Linked DNA regions of Homo sapiens: region 1 is linked to region 2. The links are contacts of gene promoters, found by promoter capture Hi-C in blood cells and fetal thymus (Javierre and others, 2016). All regions are on one chromosome and are shown on one strand. Each heading gives the region's core, a stretch centred on a gene start or on the middle of the fragment in contact. The rest is flanking DNA. Distances are from core to core; before and after follow the strand shown. Region 1 overlaps SYNE1 (spectrin repeat containing nuclear envelope protein 1). Region 2 holds the start of SYNE1-AS2 (SYNE1 antisense RNA 2).

The links. The method cuts DNA at HindIII sites, captures the fragments that hold promoters and counts their contacts. A CHiCAGO score of 5 or more calls a contact.
Region 1: a contact is called between a fragment that was not itself captured here and the fragment with the promoter of SYNE1-AS2 in region 2, in 1 of 17 cell types (neutrophils). The highest score is 5.4, in neutrophils.

What each region holds. Positions count from the first base shown.
Region 1 is chr6:152,289,971-152,292,826 of GRCh38, forward strand. All of the region lies in intron 95 of SYNE1 (spectrin repeat containing nuclear envelope protein 1), which reads right to left. Among named protein-coding and RNA genes, the nearest start is that of SYNE1-AS1, 89 kb to the right of the region's middle. The HindIII fragment of the contact is 4,286 bases long and covers 1-2,856 here.
Region 2 is chr6:152,400,991-152,404,048 of GRCh38, forward strand. SYNE1-AS2 (SYNE1 antisense RNA 2) reads left to right here and starts at 1,256. Exons shown (of 2, transcript XR_007059819.1): 1 at 1,256-1,677. It overlaps SYNE1 (spectrin repeat containing nuclear envelope protein 1), which reads right to left. Exons shown (of 146, transcript NM_182961.4): 47 at 148-351. The HindIII fragment of the contact is 21,096 bases long and covers 1-3,058 here.

The sequences.
Region 1 (2,856 bases), core at 354-2,853, 110 kb before region 2:
GGCAGTCTCCCATCCAAGTACTAACCAGGCCCAACCCTGCTTAACTTCCAAGATCAGATGAGAGACCACAGTTCTTCTCACATTCTATTTTAGTTGTTACATATATGAAAAAACAAAACAAAACAAAATAACCACAGACCTCTGTGCGCTATATATCACTGAGCTTTGTGTGGCAACACATGTCCCTAAAGCATCAGATGCCCATGATAATAAGGTCGCAATGACAGAGGGCTTAACAGTCAGTACAACAGCCACAAGTCAGCTCATGAACTGCATTCAAACCTTAAAATGAAATCTGTAAGACAGCCAAGCATGGTGGCTCACACCTGTAATCCCAGCACTTTGGGAGGCCGAGGTAAGTGGATCACCTGAGGTCAGGAGTTCGAGACCAGCCTGGCCAACATGGTGAAACCTCATCTCTACTAAAAATACAAAAATTAGTCCAGCGTGGTGGCAAGCACCTGTAATTCCAGCTACTCGGGAGGCTGAGGCAGGAGAATCACTTGAACCTGGGAGGTGAGGTTGCAGTGAGCCAAGATCACGTCACTACATTCCAGCCTGGGCAACAGACTGAGACTCTGTCTCAAAAAAAAGAAATCTATAAGACAATTTAGAGAGGATAACCAGAAAGGCACAGCATTCCACACAAATTCAGTAGTTTAGACAAGTGTTTAAAGGAAAAATGTAGGAATTAGGTTACCTCCTTAAAAAAACATGAATACTTCCAAGAGAGTGTTGGGAAAGAAATAAAAACTAAAGTATTTCTATTACTTTTTAGGAAATATAAAAAACCATACTGGACTTCCTCACACCCATTCAGTTGAAATTTAGAAATAGTAATTCTATAACAGTGCTTGACATTTTTAAAGTACCATTCCTGAAGCTAAGAACAAATTTAGATACTGTGATACCACCAGCTTTTCATGTGGGCAGCTGTGTTCCAGAACTTGTAGAACTTCTGGCACAGACAGCAAAAGGTAGCAAAAATAGCTCAGATGAAATATGTGATGATACATGAAATTATATACTAAATTCTACATTATTGCTATTTTCTTTCCCTCTCATTAGAACATTAATATGTTCTAATTATATTAATATGATATATTAATATATACAATTATATTAATATGATATATTAATATATGCAATTATATTAATATGATATATTAATATATGCAATTATATTAATATGATATATTAATATATGCAATTATATTAATATGATATATTAATATATGCAATTATATTAATATGATATATTAATATATGCAATTATATTAATATGATATATTAATATATGCAATTATATTAATATGATATATTAATATATTTTCTCTCTTAATAAACCATTAAGCCCCAATGACTGGTAATCTTCACTAAATTAGCTGTACCTCCTTACTGCTGTGATGGCTAGTACGACTACTACCAACTTAGAAAGGGAAAAAAAGTCATGTGGTTGGCCTTAATGACAAGAAAAGTCACAGATTCACTTCTAATTTATAATTATCAGAATTAATGTGCAATTTTGAGTTGTCTCCATTAAATCCCTTGAACAGAATCATCATTTTGCTCCACATTCAGTTTATGTGTGTTTCCATCCTAATGCCTGAGCAACAGGGTGGTGGTGCTGATTGGAAGCTAACTTGCATTTTCATGTACGAACTCTGGAAGGGCAGAGCAGGCCACCAGTATCCTGTTTTCATGCAGCTCCTAACTATTGTGGGAGCCAGTGATGGGTCTTTGGCAATTGTGGGCAGCCTCCTGGGCCACAAGAATGGGGGCTTGAACAAAGGTGGAGATGTCCTGAAGCTGGAGAGAGGGTCAAACTACTTAAACTTTCTGCAACATCGTCATCTGATAATCTGAGTGAGTGACTCTCAAATGCACTCTAATCCAGCCCTTGCATAATTTACACTATATTCCTTCTGAATGCTTAAAGAACGGGGCCTCCTACAGAACAGCCATCGAGGTTGGCCTGAGGAGCACATACTCAACCTGAAGGAAGCTCTCTGGCTCCTTCCAGTACAGTGAAGCAGAGGTGCAGGGAACAGCTGGACAGACAGAACCGCAGGAGCAAGGAAGACCTAGGAGCCACAGGGAGCACACTGGAGCAACAGGGACACCCCTTCAGATCAGAAAGAGGTGGCCGCTGGCAACAGAAAACTGAAGTAGCAGCTAAAGAGAACTGGGAGACACTGAGGCCCCTTTAGAAAGGAGAGGGGTTTGGGAGACTAGCAGTCTAGTGATAAAATGGGGGAAGCTCAGAAGTAAATGGCATTGGAATAGTCCCCCAAGCCCCTGACCATCCTCCTGATTGGTCTGGTCTTGGATAACAAGGGTTAATTCTCATTTCGTGCTTTCATAGCATCCTCTGCAAATGTGGCTAAGGGTGGGTGACTGTGGGATAGCAGAAAGACCTACAGAAGGTAGTTTTTTACCAAAATAAGGCCTAAAAATGGACGCTATGCACTTCGATCTCTATCTTCAGAAGTCACAAGAGTGTAAAAAACCTGAAACCACTATTTCTCAATATGCTGTCTCTAGATGAAATGTTCTCATTTTTATGTTATACTGAAAGATATATACTGCAAAAGAATGCAACTTTATCTGACTACACATATGAACAGGCAGTCTATTCCAAGGTTATCCTGCTTCCAAAACTAGAAAGATGTAAAGTAGAAGAAAGACAAAGTACAACGTTTCACTCCTAAAGCTGTTAAGTTACCCTGTGTTGATAAACATGCTTACCATGCCATGCTTTCATAGCTCTTAATTAACATCTAAAAATATCTTTCTTTCCTCCTGCCTTCTGAAGGATTGTCACATGCTCCTGGGTTCTTGTCCCAGCCAGGCAGC
Region 2 (3,058 bases), core at 6-2,505:
TTTGCTGTGTTCAATGTCATAAATAAGTTGGTCTGGTGTTCATATGGGTAACTGAGAGCAGAGGTTATATTTTTTATTATAGTCACCACAAAACAGAACTACAATCACCATTTGAATGGAAGCACTTAATGATAGTTTATTACCTACCTTGACTTTTTTCAATGCTTCACAAGTCTCATTTTGGGCACAGTTCATCAACGATTCTTCCACTTTTGTGAACCATGTTGTTATGTCATTAATAAACTTCTCCACTTGTGTACTTTGAGCCGTGAAATCCTTCAGGGTTCCTTTTGCTACTTCAGTTATTTCTTTGGCATGCTCCAGTTTCTGCATTAAGTCTGCTTCTATAAACTAAATATCAAGCAAGATTTCATCAATATCTCTGAAGACCAGAAGAATACTCATTCAGTAGAAATTCTGTTCACGTGCAGCTTAATTGTCAAAGCCACACAAGTCTCATCATGGAAGCCAGCTCCAATGTTAATATGCCTTTCCAAGAAGGAAAATCAGTGGACACAGTTGCCAAACACATGAAGTGATGGGCAAATAGAAAGAGGAAGGATTGTGTTAACACTGGGTGGGAGAGTGGAAGCTCTAACTGAGGTTCCAGGGAAGATGTGAGAGGGCATTCTGAAAGTAGAGCTAGACCTACCCAGAATTCCCAGGTGGTGACCAAAAATCTGCTCTTGATTCTCCCTGGAAATACCCATTGTCTGCTCAGATGTAACACTATCTGGGGCAAACATCACTGTAGGATTTTATCATAAAACAATTTTATTTTTGTCCCCACTGTTGCTTTAAAATATTGAGTGGGGCTAGTTATTCTCTTTTCCCTGGATGATATAGCTGAGGAGGGTCGACTTCTATGGCCCCCTAGTTAGTCAAAGGACATATAGTCACTATACATTGAAAAACAATCTCAATTCCACAATTCAAACATCCTGGCCTATTTGGTAATGAAAACTTTGAACTTAACTTAAATTGAAGGCTTCTATTCTTACCCCCACCTCAGATCTGCTGGGAGCAGGAGACCAACAGTGTGGAAGGGAGTAAATATCTTTCTTTCTCTTCCTTCATTTTATTTCTATTCTGCCACCCTGTGTAAGGCTTCTTTCTCCCATAGGCTCAGACTGGCAGGAGGCGGGTGAGGCATTCTGACTCACTGGATGGGCATCTGTGCCCTCTAGGCCAGGCAAGGTTTAGCATTCATTCCTCCTCCCATAGGCCTTGGTCTTGTGTTTTTCTGACTTTTTTCATGCTTGGACTTCCCAGTGAAGTTCCCTAGACACGACAGTGCGCTGTTCTTTGGCTCTTTACTTTCTCATTCCTCAGCCTGGAGGCCTTTCTTTAACTTCTCATTGCTAAGGTCTGTTTATCCTCCAGATAGCCTTCTTAGGCCACCTATAATATCCTCATATGGTGGTCTCTTCCTTTCTTTTCCTCTCCTGGTTCATATTTGGGCCAGAGTGACCTCTGGCATTTACCTCCAACTAACTTTGAGGTGCAGGACCCCACAAGCCATCATTTATCCTTTGGCAAATATAGCAGCAGTTAGCCAGCCTGTCTGTCACTTTTAGGATTCTTTGGGGGATAGAGATCAGACTCCCATGCCTGCCAAATGCAGGGGACAAATATCCTGTTCTTCAGGTGGCACTGCCGGAACCCTTCTGCCTTGAGGTAAGGTAAGCCACCCCCTCACCTCTTCCTTGAGTATACATAGGGGTGCATGTATGTGCACACGTGTGTGTGTGTGTGAGAGAGAGAAAGACAGAGAGAGAGAGAAACAGAGAGAGAGAGAGAGAGAAAGGAAGAAAGAGAAGACTAGAGTACACCAATAACTCTCTGAAGATCCTGCTCAACTCTGTAAAAGTCCAACTGTTAACCATTGATATCCCCAACACAGGCGGCATGCATAAGGACTCTTTATCTTTTTTGCATATGGATAGCACCTCCTTTGTGTCTTCTTACTTCACACGAAACTTCTAGCATTCCTGTGCATGTATATCATCCCTAATGGTACTGCTGAACAAGCAGTCTCAGGTCAGAGCAAAAGCATAACTGATCAACTAGATTGATTGCTTAGCCCAAAGTAGCAAATCAAAGAGAAAGCACAAGAAGAAGAAAGGAAATGTAGAGAAAATCAACAGAAGCAGCAACACATATGGAAGCTAAAGGGATGCAGCAGAAACCTGAGCCTGGAGCCAGTGGGGCTGCCAGCCAAAAGAGACCCACCATGCTGGATGCTTCCAGGGCTTGGGCACTGAAGTAGCCCAGGTGTTCTGACCAGTGCTGATCTACCCTGGCCTGCTTCATGGTTCCCGTGGATTTGTGCCATCTGAAGGGCCGTGAAGGGAGGTTTATAGTGGTGATCCCTCTAAACCCAGTTATTCAGTAACAGCATTAGGAAAATATCAATAAGAACATCAACATTCATAAGAAGGGTTTCTAGGCTGGGCGCAGTGGCTCACACCTGTAATCCCAGCACTTTGGGAGGCTGAGGCAGGCAGATTGCATGAGCTCAGGAGTACAAGACCAGCCTTGGCAACATGGCAAAACCTCCTGTCTACAAAAAATTTAAAAAATTAGCCTGCCATGGTGGCACGTGCCTGTAGTCTCAGCTACCAGGGAGGCTGAGGTGGGAGAATTGCTTGAGCTTGGGAGGCAGAGGTTGCAGTAAGCCGAGATTGCACCACTGCACTCCACCCTGGGTGACAGAGTGAGACCCTGTCTCAATAAACAAACAAACAACCAACATCAAAAACACCAAAAAAAGAGGGGGTTCTGTTCCTGTCTAGACATGAAATGGTCCATGAGGCAACTTGGCTGAAATGCTTCCGAAATTCAGTAGGCAAAAAAAGAACTACCCTTATTATAATATTCGAGTTGGAAATATGCTATTAATACTGGCTGAAGGAATGTGGAAATATATTAATATTTTGACTCCCATGTCTGATACAATCCACATGTTTCCTTGGAATTATGGTGATGATGATAACATCGAGGACATATAAAGGAGATATACATATATATGATATATATATATGAGATACATATATAG